Regions from separate parts of the Homo sapiens genome. Here region 2 is linked to region 1. The links are contacts of gene promoters, found by promoter capture Hi-C in human tissues and cell types (Jung and others, 2019). All regions are on one chromosome and are shown on one strand. Each heading gives the region's core, a stretch centred on a gene start or on the middle of the fragment in contact. The rest is flanking DNA. Distances are from core to core; before and after follow the strand shown. Region 1 holds the start of TMEM121 (transmembrane protein 121). Region 2 has its middle 58 kb from the start of LINC00221.

The links. The method cuts DNA at HindIII sites, captures the fragments that hold promoters and counts their contacts. A contact is called where the count stands out against the background at its distance.
Region 2: a contact is called between a fragment that was not itself captured here and the fragment with the promoter of TMEM121 in region 1, in 1 of the 25 tissues and cell types used here (lymphoblastoid cells).

What each region holds. Positions count from the first base shown.
Region 1 is chr14:105,521,280-105,527,908 of GRCh38, reverse strand. TMEM121 (transmembrane protein 121) reads right to left here and starts at 1,326. Exons shown (of 2, transcript NM_025268.4): 1 at 1,256-1,326. The HindIII fragment of the contact is 20,488 bases long and covers 1-6,629 here.
Region 2 is chr14:106,536,988-106,544,304 of GRCh38, reverse strand. It overlaps IGH and IGHV3-48. Among named protein-coding and RNA genes, the nearest start is that of LINC00221, 58 kb to the right of the region's middle. The HindIII fragment of the contact is 5,443 bases long and covers 1,622-7,064 here.

The DNA of each region.
Region 1 (6,629 bases), core at 77-2,576:
ACCTCTGTCACACACCTGGCACTGGTCCTCATGGCCGTGCTGTCGGAGTCCCCGCACCTGGGCCTGTGCACACCTGGGTGACAATGGAGGCCCGCACACCCGCACCCACCCCAAAGTCACTGACAGGCTTACTCCCAGCCAGCCCCTCACCCCCTCCACAGCCCCAGGCCTGGGGCTCCGTTTACTGCCGTGTCTAGACAAAGGCATAAAATTTAATGTCCCCGTGACAGTCGGGCGCTCGGACTGCCCTGGTGACACCGCAGGCCCCACCGATCCGGGAAAGCGTTGAACTCTGCACTCCCACCCCTGCCCCCACCCAGCACCCGCCGCCCAGGATCCCCACAGCCACACACAGGACACCCCCACCCCTCGGAGCTCTGACAGGTCGCGAGGAGGGTGCCTTGAGGGTCCTCAGCCCATGCCCCTGCCTCCAAGCCTCCCCGCGCTCTGGGTCCCACCGGGACACTCACCCGGTTTTCACGTCCACTGGATCTACACGTCTGACCCAGGAAGCCCTCTCTGGGCCCATTCCAGGCCCACCTGGGCCTCCCCTAGCTGCAGCCGCAGCCTGAGAATTTCCTCCCTCTCCGCGCGTGGCGGGGCCAAATAAATAGCGGGGGAGCCACGGCGCCGCTCACCCTTTCCGGCCGTGCCTCCAGCCCCTCCGCCCCACTACGCTGTCGCTCGATCCTCAGTCACTTGGCAGATGCGGGCCGAGGGGCTCTGCGCTGGCGAAGGGACGGACTCCAGCCCCTAGCGGAGCCCCTACCCCGGCAAGCCAGAGCCCGGCCCGGCCACCTCTCCGTAGGGACCTGGCCCCAGGCCCACCTGTCCTGGGTCTCCTGGGCCCCGGCCGAGGCCCCTCCTCCCCCCACGCCCCGCGGCTCAGACCTGGCACAGACTCTGGGGCCTCCAGGCCCTTCACTGCCCGGGCCCCGCAAGGACCCTCGCCCCATAACCACCCCTCGGAGCCCCCGGGAGGAGGGGCGGGAGGGGGCTGCTGTGCTCCCGCCGCGGGCCGGTGCAGAGCTTGGGCCGCTCCCAGCAGGCTGCGTCTCTGCTTGTCCCCCCGAGGCTTCCCCACGCAGGGCCGGGTCCCCGTCACCCCGCCGGCCCCAGGCCTCACCCCTGCCGCATCGGCCCCCGCCCCACCCCACAGTCCCCACGGCCCAGAGGTGCAGGGTCGCCCAGGCCCGCCGCCCCCTCCGCGGACGCAGCCGCGCACCCAGCCAGTCCCGCCCGCGCCCGCGCCTACCCCGCCGCCCGCAGATGCTGCGCCGCTCCCGGGCCCGCCCGCCCAGCCTCTGCCGCCACTGCCGGGGCCGCGCCGGCTCCTCCCGCCGCGCCCCTCCCCCGCCCGCGCGGCACCGCCCCCGACCCAGAGGCCCCGCCCCGCGCCCCTCGGCCCGCGAGCCCCGCCGGACCTGGGGACCTGGGAGCGCGGGGGTGCCGGTGCCCCGCCCCCTCCGCAGCGCCGGTTGCCACGGCGACAGCACCGCGCGGCGGCGCGCAGGACTGGTGGCTCTGGGGAGCGGGGCGCCCTCGCGCACCCCCAGGCGCGGAGTCCCGTCTCCACCCTCCTCACCCACCGCCCAGAATCCCAGGGTCCCGCCCAGTGCCCCCCGCGCCCTGAAACTCCGCTGCCGCCCCCTAGAGCGACCCCACTCAGCCGGACAGGCGCCCACCGGCCCAGGAGCTGACAGGGATGTAGGCGCGGGGCTGGCCTGGCCGCCGGGGCCCTCCGCGCCACCCTCTGTCCTCTTTGGGGAGAAACCCAGCCTTCCCAGGTTTCTTCTCAGGGCAGAGGAAAGGAATGATGAGCGGCCCCCACCTTCTTCTCCAGCCCGTCCAGGAGGCAAGCTAGGGTTTGGGGACTTGGGCTTCATTTTGTCACTGAGGTGGCACTAAGCCCCTCCCCCCACATCCTGTCCATCCCGTGTGAGCCAGAGAAGAACCCGAGGGCACCTTCTGCCTGCCTGCCCTCCTTCCCAGAACTGCTGTGACTTCCCTCTGACATAGGAGGAGACTGAGGGTCAGAGAGGTAAAGGGACACCAGATTTGGTGGAAAGACCAGAATTTGAGGCACCACCCAACTGGTAGTGAACTTCCAGATTCTCTTCCCGTATCCCCGGGCCTGGACTCAACACGGCCTGAAAGCCAGAAGAGGACAGAGAGCTCCAGAAGTTCTCTAGTCCTGGCACAAGGGGAGGAAAGAAAAAGGTCGCCTAATGCTCCCAGGGTGCAGGAGAATGCCCGGGGGGATGTTAGGGTTTGGGAGGATGGGGTTTTTTGGTAGTGGTTGTTTTTTTACTCTTCTCCATTCTCTGATGCCCCAGCCCCTAGGTATCCCACCAAAGCCATGACCAAGGCATAGGGTTTACAAGCACCTAAAACGCTGAGGCAGAAGAGCCTTCCTTTCCAGCCCCAGGAGATGTGGTCCCCTGTCGCTGGAGAGATGGTGGGCAGGGAGAAGCAGTAGAAAGCAATCCATGGGCTGGGCGTGGTGGCTCACACCTGTAATTCCAGCACTTTGGGAGGCCGATGTGGGCGGATTACCTGAGGTCGGGAGTTCGAGACCAGCCTGGCCAACATGGTGAAACCCCCATCTCTACTAAAAATATAAAAATTAGCCGGGCGTGGTGGCACACACCTGTAATCCCAGCTACTCGGGAGGCTGAAGCAGGAGAATTGCTTGAGTCCGGGAGATGGAGGTTGCAGTGAGCCGAGATCTTGCCACTGCACTCCAGCCTGGGCAACAGAGTGAGACTCTGTCTCAAAAAAAAAAAAAAAAAAAAAGCAACCCCAGGAAGTTGTGCAAGCCATACATGATGTACAAGTCTAAACCCTCATTCACATCCCAAAGGCTGAGAACTGAACAAAAGGACAGCCCACTGCCCACGTCCCACACTGGCCACTGGGCAGTGCATACGAAGGACAGATCTGAGTCCCACTGCAAAGGCTTTGAAAACAAAACCGACATGGAAGGCAGGACCCACAGGAGCCTATTTGAACTTGTGGCCTGAAACCAACTAGGTTGATTGCATGATAAAACAAAATGCCAACATTCTCAATGGGATTTAAATAAGACCAGTCTCATAACATAATGTCTAAATGTGCAGGAGACAATCTAAAATTACTCTGCATGTGAAGAATCAGGAAATCCAACCTGCAAGAGAAAAGACAATCAACAGCCGCCAATGCCAACATGACACAAAAACCCTCAACTAATTATCAGCAAATAGAATCAAGCAGCATTAAAAACACACACACACAAATACCCCAACCAAATGGAGGCTATCCCAGAAAGGCAAGGCTGGTTCAACATGTGAAAATAAATCGATGTGATCCACCATATTAGTCTCAAGAAGAAAACCATGTGATCATCTCAATCAATTCAAAGAAAGTATTTGACGGAATTCAACACTCATCCCTGATAAACACTCTCAGCAAACTAGAAAGCAAAGGGAACATGCTTAATCTCATAAAAGGAATCTACAAAAAGCAACAACAAAAACAACAGGCCAGGCATGGTGGCTCACCCCTGCAATCTCAACATTTTGGGAGGCCAGGAGTTCAAGACCAGCCCGGGCAACATGGAGAGATTCCATATCTGTTATTTTTAATTAAAAAAAAAATTAGGCCAGGCACTGTGGCTCATGCCTCTAATACCAGCATTTTGGGAGGCCAAAGTGGGCGGATTGCTTGAGCTTGAGTTCAAGACCAGCCTGGGAAACATGGTGAAACCCTGTCTCTACAAAAAATACAAAACAATCTGGCCGGATGTGGTGGCTCACGCCTGTAATCCCAGCACTTTGGGAGGCCAAGGCAGGCAGATCACCTGAGCTCAGGAGTTCTATGCCAGCCTGGGCAACATGGCGAAACACCATCTCTACTTAAAACACACACACACACACACACACATTAGCAGGGTACAGTGACACACACCTGTAATCCCAGCTACTCAGGAGGCTGAGGCATGAGAATCGCTTGAACTTGGGAGGCAGAGGTTGCAGTGAACTAAGATCGCACCACTGCACTCCAGTGTGGGCAACAGAGGAAGACCCTGTCCAAAAAAGAAAAAAAAAAAAAAAAAAAACCTCTGCATCTAATGTGATACTTAATAATGAAGGACTAAATGCTGAGCCCTAAGATCAGGAACAAGGTAAAGATGTCCACTCTATTCACTCCTGTTCCACAGTGTACTGGCAGTCCTAACCCATGCAATAAAACCAGAAAAATAAAAGGCATACAGATTAGAAAGGAAGAAATAAAGATGTCCCTATCCATAAATAACATAAAAGTCTATGTCGAAAATCCCAAGAATTTTACCAACAAAAAAGTCAGAATACTAATAAGTGAGTTTTGCAAGGTTGCAGGATGAAAACACAGAACTCAGTCCTGTTTCTATATATTAGCAATGAACAATTGAAAACCAAAATTTTTAAAAGCAATGCTATTTAAAATGGTCCCCCAGTAAATTTATTCGTTTGGTATTAATCTAACAAGACTGGTACAGGATTTGTATACTGAAAACTACCAAATGCTGATAAAAGAAATCAAAGAAGGCCTAAATATGTGAGAGGCATGCTGTGTTCCTGAATTAGAACAAATATAGTTAAGATACCAATTCTCTCCAAAACGACTACGGATTTAATGCAATTTCAATTAAAATTCCTGTCGGAAATTTTATAGGTATAGAAAACCTTGTTCTGAAATGTATATAGAAATGAAAAGCAACTAGTTGCCAAAATAATTCTGAAAAAGAAGGGAAAAAGTTGGAGGGTTCTCACGAATGGATGTTTTTGTTGTTGTTGTTTTTGTTTTTTTGGGTTTTTTTTTTTTTTGAGACTGAGTCTCGCTCTGTAGCCCAGGCTGGAGTGCAGTGGCATGATCTTGGCTCACTGGAAGCTCTGCCTCCTGGGTTCATGCCATTCTCCTGCCTCAGCCTCCCGAGTAGCTGGGACTACAGGCGGCCGCCACCACGCCCGGCTAATTTTTTGTATTTTTAGTAGAGACGGAGTTTCACTGTGTTAGCCAAGATGATCTCGATCTCCTGACCTCGTGATCCACCCACCTCAGCCTCCCAAAGTGCTGGGATTACAGGTGTGAGCCACCGTGCCCAGCCATCACTAATGGATGTTAACTCACCATAAAGCTAAAGCAATTGAGACAGGCTGAATTGGCAGAGGGTCAGCCGACAGATCAATGGAACAAGTGCACCCACACAAGCATGGCCATTGATTCTTTAACAGATTTATTGAAATATAATTCAAATACCATAAAATTCATCCATTTAAAGGGTACAATTCAGGCCAGGCGCAGTGGCTCACACTTGTAATCCCAGCACCTTGGGAGGCCGAGGCAGGTGATCACCTGAGGTCAGGAGTTCAAGACCAGCCTGGCCAACACGGTGAAACCTCACCTCTACTAAAAACACACACACACACACACACAAAAATTAGCCAGGCGTGATGACCCACGCCTGTAGTCCCAGCTACTTGGGAGGCTAAGGCAAGAGAATCGCTTGAACCCAGGAGACGGAGGTTGCAGTGAGCCGAGATCATGCCACTGCACGCCAGCCTGGGCAACAGAGCAAGACTCTGTCTCAAAATAAATAAATAAATAAATAAAGTGTACAATTCAGCCAGGCACAGTGGCTCACTCCTGTAATCCCAGCGCTTTGGGAGGCCAGGCAGGAGAACTGCTTGATCCCAAGAGTTCGATGCCAACCTAGGTAACATAGCAATACCTCGTCTCTACAAAAAACACAAAGGGTAGGTGGGCATGGTGGCGCATGCCTGTAGTCACAGCTATTTGGGGGGCTGAGGTGGGAGGATCGCTTGAACCTGGGAGGTTGAGGCTACAGTGAGCCGTGGGAGCTGGGGCAACAGAGTGAGACTCTGTCTCCAAAAGCAAAAGTGTACAGTCTGGGCACAGTGGCTCACGCCTGTGATCCCAGCACTTTGGGAGTCCAAGGAGGGCAGATGACTTGAGGTCAGGAGTTCGAGATCAGCCTGGCCAGCATGGTGAAACCTCGTCTCTACTAAAATACAAAAATTAGCTGGGCGTGGTGGCGCACACTTGTAATCCCAGCTGCTTGGGAGGCTGAGGCAGAAGGAGCCTAGCTTGAACCCAGGAGGCGGAGGTTGTAGTGAGCCGAGATGGCACCACTGCACTCCAGCCTGGGTGACAGAGCAAGATAAGAAGGAGAGAGACAGAGAGAGAGAGAGAGAGGGAGGCAGGGAGGGAGGGAGGGAGAGAGAGGGAGAGGGAGAGGGAGGGAGGGAGGGAGAGAGAGGGAGAGAGAGAAAGAAAGAAAGAAAGAAAGAAAGAAAGAAAGAAAGAAAGAAAGAAAGAAAGAAAGAAAGAGGAAGGAAAGGAAAGAGAGAGGAAGGGAGGAAGGAAGGAAGGAAAATTTTACACATGTCATAATCAATTTTAAAAGATTTTCATCATCCCCAGAGCCAGTAGCATTCGCCCCCCTTTCACACCCACCCAGAGCCAGTAGCATTCGCCCCCCTTTCACACCCACCCAGAGCCAGTAGCATTCGCCCCCCTTTCACACCCACCCAGAGCCAGTAGCATTCGCCCCCCTTTCACACCCACCCAGAGCCAGTAGCATTCGCCCC
Region 2 (7,317 bases), core at 3,094-5,593, 1.0 Mb before region 1:
TGAAGGAAACAATTGAGTTAAGAGAGGACCTGCAGATGATAGACAATATTGAAAACTATTAATATGACAAAGGATTACTACCAAGCATGTGAAATAAGCTCAACGGGTGTGGTGGTTCATGTCTGTAGTACCAGCAATTTGGGAGGCAAGTTGCGCAGATCACCTGAGGTTAGGAGCTCGACACCAGCCTGACCAACATAAAGAACACCCTGTCTCTACTAAAAGTACAAAATTAGCTGGGCATGGTGGCATGCGCCTGTAATCCCAGCTACTCGGGAGGCTGAGGCAGGAGCATCACTTGAACCTGGGAGGTGGAGGTTGCGGTGAGCTGAGATGGCACCATTGCACTCCAGCCTGGGCAACAAGAGGGAAACTCCATCTCAAAAAAAAAAATTACAAAAAATTAGCTGAGCGTGGTGGTGGGCGCCTGTATACCCAGCTGCTAGGGAGACTGAGGCAGGAGAATCACTTGAACCCAGGAGGTGAAGGTTGCAGTGAGCTGAGATTGCGCCATTGCACTCCATCCTGGGCAACAAGAGTGAAACTCCATCTCAAAAAAAAAAAAAAAGAGCCTTGCAAAGGGCAAATAGATCATAGACAGACAGATAGATAGATAGACCTATTAGTATACATACATACATATATATACACTAATATTCAGGAAAATGCAAATTCATAATGAGATGTCTTTTCACCCTTCATCTCTGCTAGAAAGTTTGTTATCTGAAAAACAAATACATACATACATACTTATTAAAAGCTGGCCAGGATGCCTAGAAAGTAAAACTCATAGACCACTGGTGGAAATGTAAATTAGTGCAGCCATCAAGGGAAAAAAATAGAACTACCATATATTCCAGCAATCCAACTGCTAAGTATATATCTATTTAAATATTTAAAAGAAAAAACTAATATTGAAGAGATACCTGTACACCCATGTTTATTGCAGCACTAATCACAATTTCTAAGATATGAAATCAACATATGTGTCCATCAACAGATGAATGGATACATAAAATGTGATATATTTACACAATGGAATATTATTCAGCCTTAACAATGAAATTCTGCCATTTAAAGCAACATGGATGGAATGGGACACCACTATGTTGAGTGAAATGAGTCAGACACAGAAAAATAAATACCGCATTTCTCAGCGTTACTTCTAGAAGTAAATAGTAGAGTAGTGGTGATGAGATGCCAGGAATGAGAGAAGGCTGAGAGATAAGAAGAGGTTTGTTAACAAACACACAATTACAGGTAGACAGGAGGGATGTGCTCTAGTGTTCTACAGCACAGTAGGGTGACTACAGTTAACAATATATTGTACGTTTTCTGTTTACAAGAAGCCAGAAGAGAGAATTTTCTATGCTACCAACACAAATAAATGTTAGTGTCTGAACTGACGAATTTGCTCATTGTTCTGATTTTGGTCATACCAAGTGGCACACATGTATTCAAATATCACACTGTATCCCATAAACATAAGCAGTTATTATGTGCCAACTTTGAAAAATCCTTTAATTAAAAAGAATTATATTGGCGTACATTACAAATGATTCAACACAGAGACAGGAATAAATACCATTTTTCTTTGAAATAGTTAATTAACTAACAATGTAGTTACATTCATTTGCACCAAATCGTGTATTTGATAATGGTATGCATAGACAGAGTTATGCATAGGATAATATCTTTTAATTTTAGACTACTACTTAATACTATAAATATAAATAATTTTAAAACAACTAAGTAAAAAGAATAAAGCTGAGAAAATGTGTGTGTGGTGTGTGATGTGTGAGCTTTTTCTTGTGCACCACTGTGTCCTTGGTGGATGTGTGGTTCATGTGTTTGTTTTTATTTACTCTGTTTGGGGTTCTCTTTGCTTCTAGGATCTGTAGTTCAGTTTCTTTCACAAAATTGGGAACATTCTTCGCTATTATCTTTTTCAAATAGTTTCTGTGTATTTATAATTTCTCCTTCTCAGATTTAAAATATACACATACTATAATTTTGATATTAATGTTTAGTTTCTTTCTTCACTCTCTTTTCGTTTGCAATTTACTTTGTGAAATTTCTAGTGACATACTAATCACATGGTTTTATTGAAAAGCTGAGCCAGCTCTACTGAGGTGTGTGCCAAAAGATTGCTCGATGTTCATACAGCATTGCTTTTGATTTCTTACGCATTTCCATTTGATTTATTCTTAGTATTTTCATATTTCAGTTCCCTATCTATGTCCACGATTTCTTTAAGAGATTCTTGCATATGAATCATAGTTACTTTACATATCTTGTTTAATTAGATATTTATAATATCTGTTTCATCTACAAATCTCATGCTGATCATTTGTTTATTACGACTTTGGTACTTCTCATTAATGTATGTAATAATTGTTGATAGCCACAGATACTGGGATGGACAGTGGATACTGGCTTATTATTTCATTTTATGCATTTCTGCCTGTATTTGACCACACTTTACCTTTGCCAGGCCTTTACTGTGGAAGTATCTGTGAATCTTCTCAGAACTATATTTGACATTCACTTTTGCAGTGGACATCAAAGTTGAAGTCTGTTCTTCTGTGTCCACCAGAGACTTCAGATCCTCCAGTGATATCTTGTTTTTCTTTCCTGCTTGGCTTTGTCTCTTCACCTGTTCCCTCCTCCAGAGAATCATGTTCAGCTCCCTCAGGTGGATTTAAATGTTATTTAACTGACAATTGTGAAATTGGTGGAAAGCAATAGAATAAAGGGAGATTTTCTGACCTTTCCTGGGTTCATATTGTGAACATGAGTCTGGGTGTGACCTTCCCAATGTTTCTGAACTTCCTCCAGATGAGATGTTGGTCTGTGTGTTCTTGCTCTTTTCCCTGCTGTGGAGTCCTCTTGTTTTCCCCAGTTGTTCCCTCCCACAGCTCCAACGTTCTCTTTCGGTGTTATCACCTTACAGATTTGCTGACTAGAACTGCAGATTAAGGCTCTGATTAAATAAGAAGGAGGGGAGATACTTCTCAATGGAACTTAGGTGAAGACCTCTTTTCCCATCTCAGTTCCTAAGGGATTGCCCCAGTGCCCCTAAGATACTGGTTTTGGTGGCTTGCCCCTCCAGAATAATTTCTTTGTTCTCCAGTGGGGATATGGAAGGTGGGTCTGAACGCTTTTCAGAAGGGTGGGCACTTTTTCTCTCCTAGACAGACACAATGGGACAGAACAATTTTGGTGACTGTCCCCATTTTGGGGAAAAAGGATTCAATAGGATAGGAAAACTCTTCAGTCTGTGGTCCCTAAGAAATTCACCCTACAACACATTTACCACACTTGACTTCAAGCAATCCAATATATATGTGTGTTTTCATCTTGTAATAGCCTACATTTTACATGCCATACTCTGCCTCAGTTCAGCTCATACCCCAGCTTTGTTACTCTTTACAAGAACTTGCCTCTCCCTAGATTTCACATTTGCTGTTTATCTTAAAACTTCAAGTATCTAAAGTATTATTTTTAAAAAATGGCCAGTTGTGGTGGCTCACACCTGTAATCCCAACGCTTTGGGAGGCTGAGGTATGTGGATCACCTGAGGTCAGGAGTTTGAGACCACCCTGGCCAACATGGTAAAACCTGTCTCTACTAAAAATACAAAAAAAAAATAGCTTGGCATGGTGGCAGGCACCTGTAATCCCAGCTACTTGGGAGGCTGATACTGGAGAATAGCTTGAACCCAGGAGGCAGAGTTTGCAAGTCGTACCATTGCACTCCAGCCTGGGCGACAGAGTGAGACTCTGTCTCAAAAAAAAAAATTCCAAAATTCCAGCTCCTCTGTTTATCTATTTTTGTTGATACTGTTGTTGTAAAACATAAGTAAAATATATTATTCATCTATGTACATTTCCAAGCTGTGTAGAAGAATTTTTAATAAGACCCAGAGTAAAAAAAGAATGCAAATATGTAGGGGCCAGCCCTACAGGGTCTGTGGATCTTTCTCCCCATGTGCAGAGATGAGAGATCGTAGAAATAAAGGCACAAGACAAAGAGATAGAAGAAAAAACAGCCGGACCCAGGGGACCACTACCACCAAGACACAGACTAGAAGTGGCCCCGAATGCCTGGCTCCGCTGTTATTTATTGGATACAAGGCAAAAGGGGAAGGGTAAGGAGTGTGAGTCATCTGCAATGATTGATAAGGTCATGTGGGTCACGTGTCCACCAGACAGAGGGCACTTCCCTGTTTGGCAGCCGAGGCGGAGAGAGAGAGAGGACAGCTTAGGTCATTATTTATTCCATTCTCTTCTCAGAAAGATCAAAGACTTTAATACTTTCACTAATTCTGCTACTGCTATCTAGAGGGCGGAGCCAGGTGTACAGAGTGGAACATGAAAGTGAAACAGGAGTGTGACCGCTGAAGCACAGCATCACAGAGAGACGTTTAGGCCTCTGGAGGGCTGCGGGCAGGTTTGACTGATGTCAGGCCTTCCACAAGAGGTGGTGGAGCAGAGTCTTCTCTAACTCCCCCGGGGAAAGGGAGACTCCCTTTCCAGGTCTTCTAAGTAATGGGTAATGGGTGCCTTCCCAGGCACTGGCGCTACCGCTAGACCGAGGAGCCCTCTAGTGGCCCTGTCCGGGCGTGACAGAGGCTCACACTCCTGTCTTCTGGTCACTTCTCACTGTGTCCCTTCAGCTCCTATTGCTGTATGGCCTGGTTTTTCCTAGGTTATAATTGTAGAGCAAGGATTATTATAATGTTGGAATAAAGAGTAATGCTACAGACTGATGATTAATGATATTCATATATAATCATATCTATAACCTATTTCTAGTACAACTATTCTTATTTTACATATTCTCTTCATTACACTGGAACAGCTTGTGCCCTCAGTCTCTTGCCTCAGCACCTGGGTGGCTTGCCGCCCAGACAAATATTGTTAAGCTTCTTAATAGAAAAACAAATTATGGTAAATGTGTTCACTGGAATACTACCCGTCATTTATAATAAATTAATGCCTGATACACAGAGCAACAAGGTAAAATATCTAAGTATTTATGTTGAGTAAAATAAGCTAAACAAATAAGAATATATACTATGTAATTTCATTTTTATAAATTCTGATAAATAAAAATGCATCTGAAGTAAAATAATGAAGATAAGTAGTTGCCTGGGGTAATGGTAGAAGAAGGGAGGGGGAGAGGAGGAGGAATACAGCAGAACAAGGGGAAATGTTGAGAAGAATTCACTTGTCCACTTTCTTGGTAATGATAGCAGTTACATCATTTTTATTAGTTGTACATTTTAAATATGTGAAGTTTATTATCTTTCAATTAAGCCTCATAAAATGTCTTACAAGCAAACAAATGGAAACTTAGACAAGGAAAGAGTAATAGAAAGACAGAAAAAATAAGTTCAATGTCAGAAGTACCTGAAAATTAATGTGCCTGGATCCTAGTTCTCTCCATATTTTCAGAAGAGTGCTGGAGGGCAGCAAAACCACACATGCTCTTATTACGGAATGTGGGTTCTGATAAAAACACTAGACACATCCAGCTTTGTCCTGGAGTTGGTTTAGGGGGATGTCAGAGACAGTGATGAAGAGCACAGGGCCAGATACCGGGGTTCACTCATCCCAGACATGAGCTCCGAGACGCATACAGAGCCCCCCCATGTGTGGGTTTACTTCCACTTCTGTAAATGGAGAAAATATTGTCTCCTACAGAACATAGTTTACATGAATATTTAAAATGAAATAGGGTGATTAGTGCAAAGTGTTTATCACAGCACAATTTCATAATAAGACAGCATATTTTCCAAATGCAATCATTGCCAGCAAACTTCTACAGGGCACCGTCGTCTTATCTGGGTACAGCCTACTCCTCAAGGGTCCCACCCTAGAGCTTGCTATATAGTAGGAGATATGCAAATAGGGCCCTCCCTCTACTGATGAAAACCAACCCAACCCTGACCCTGCAGCTCTCAGAGAGGTGCCTTAGCCCTGGATTCCAAGGCATTTCCACTTGGTGATCAGCACTGAACACAGAGGACTCACCATGGAGTTGGGGCTGTGCTGGGTTTTCCTTGTTGCTATTTTAGAAGGTGATTCATGGAAAACTAGAGAGATTTAGTGTGTGTGGATATGAGTGAGAGAAACAGTGGATATGTGTGGCAGTTTCTGACCTTGGTGTCTCTTTGTTTGCAGGTGTCCAGTGTGAGGTGCAGCTGGTGGAGTCTGGGGGAGGCTTGGTACAGCCTGGAGGGTCCCTGAGACTCTCCTGTGCAGCCTCTGGATTCACCTTCAGTAGTTATGAAATGAACTGGGTCCGCCAGGCTCCAGGGAAGGGGCTGGAGTGGGTTTCATACATTAGTAGTAGTGGTAGTACCATATACTACGCAGACTCTGTGAAGGGCCGATTCACCATCTCCAGAGACAACGCCAAGAACTCACTGTATCTGCAAATGAACAGCCTGAGAGCCGAGGACACGGCTGTTTATTACTGTGCGAGAGACACAGTGAGGGGAAGTCAGTGTGAGCCCAGACACAAACCTCCCTGCAGGGGTCCCTTGGGACCACCAGGGGGCGACAGCACACTGAGCACGGGGCTGTCTCCAGGGCAGGTGCAGGTGCTGCTGAGGGCTGGCTTCCTGTGATGGCCTGGGGCGGCCTCATTGTCAAATTTCCCCGGGGAACTTCTCCAGATTTACAATCCTGTACTAATATTTGATGTCTCTAAATGCAACCTTTTTTTTCCTTTTTGTGTCTGTTTTTTTTTTTTAAAACAGGAGGACACATCCTCACCTCCACAGAAGCCACAGTGTCACTTTGGGGGCAGAAATAATCCTTTCGTGGTCAACAGGGTGAGAGTTTTGAGGAATCCCAGGGAAACCTGGGGAATGTTTTCCAATTAGACTCAGGGCAGAGACCTCCATGGGAATCTCTGATTAGAACAGGCTTTGAGTTCTGATGGGAGCCAAGAGAGAGGCTCACCCAGGGTCAGGGTTCTTAAAACCTGATGGTTTTCACAGCAATCCCCCTTCATCTTGTGAAACTGGGCACATCTGACTCAGACTGATTCAGTTGACCCTCTTTCTGCTAATCCATTTTCCTTCCCAGTAGACTTGATTCTCACAGATCCCTTTCTTCTTCTCTTTCCTGAAAACAGAGGATGTGTTTTCTGTAGTCTAAATTCCAAGGCTCAGGTCCGCAGGAGCTGGGTAGGCTGAGGGGTCTTCCTCACTCACTATTGCCTGGAAAATCCTGCTGTCTTCTGTGCATGGAGGCATTTGGAAAATGAAGCAGGCATTAGTCATGAAGGGAATAATACTAGTTT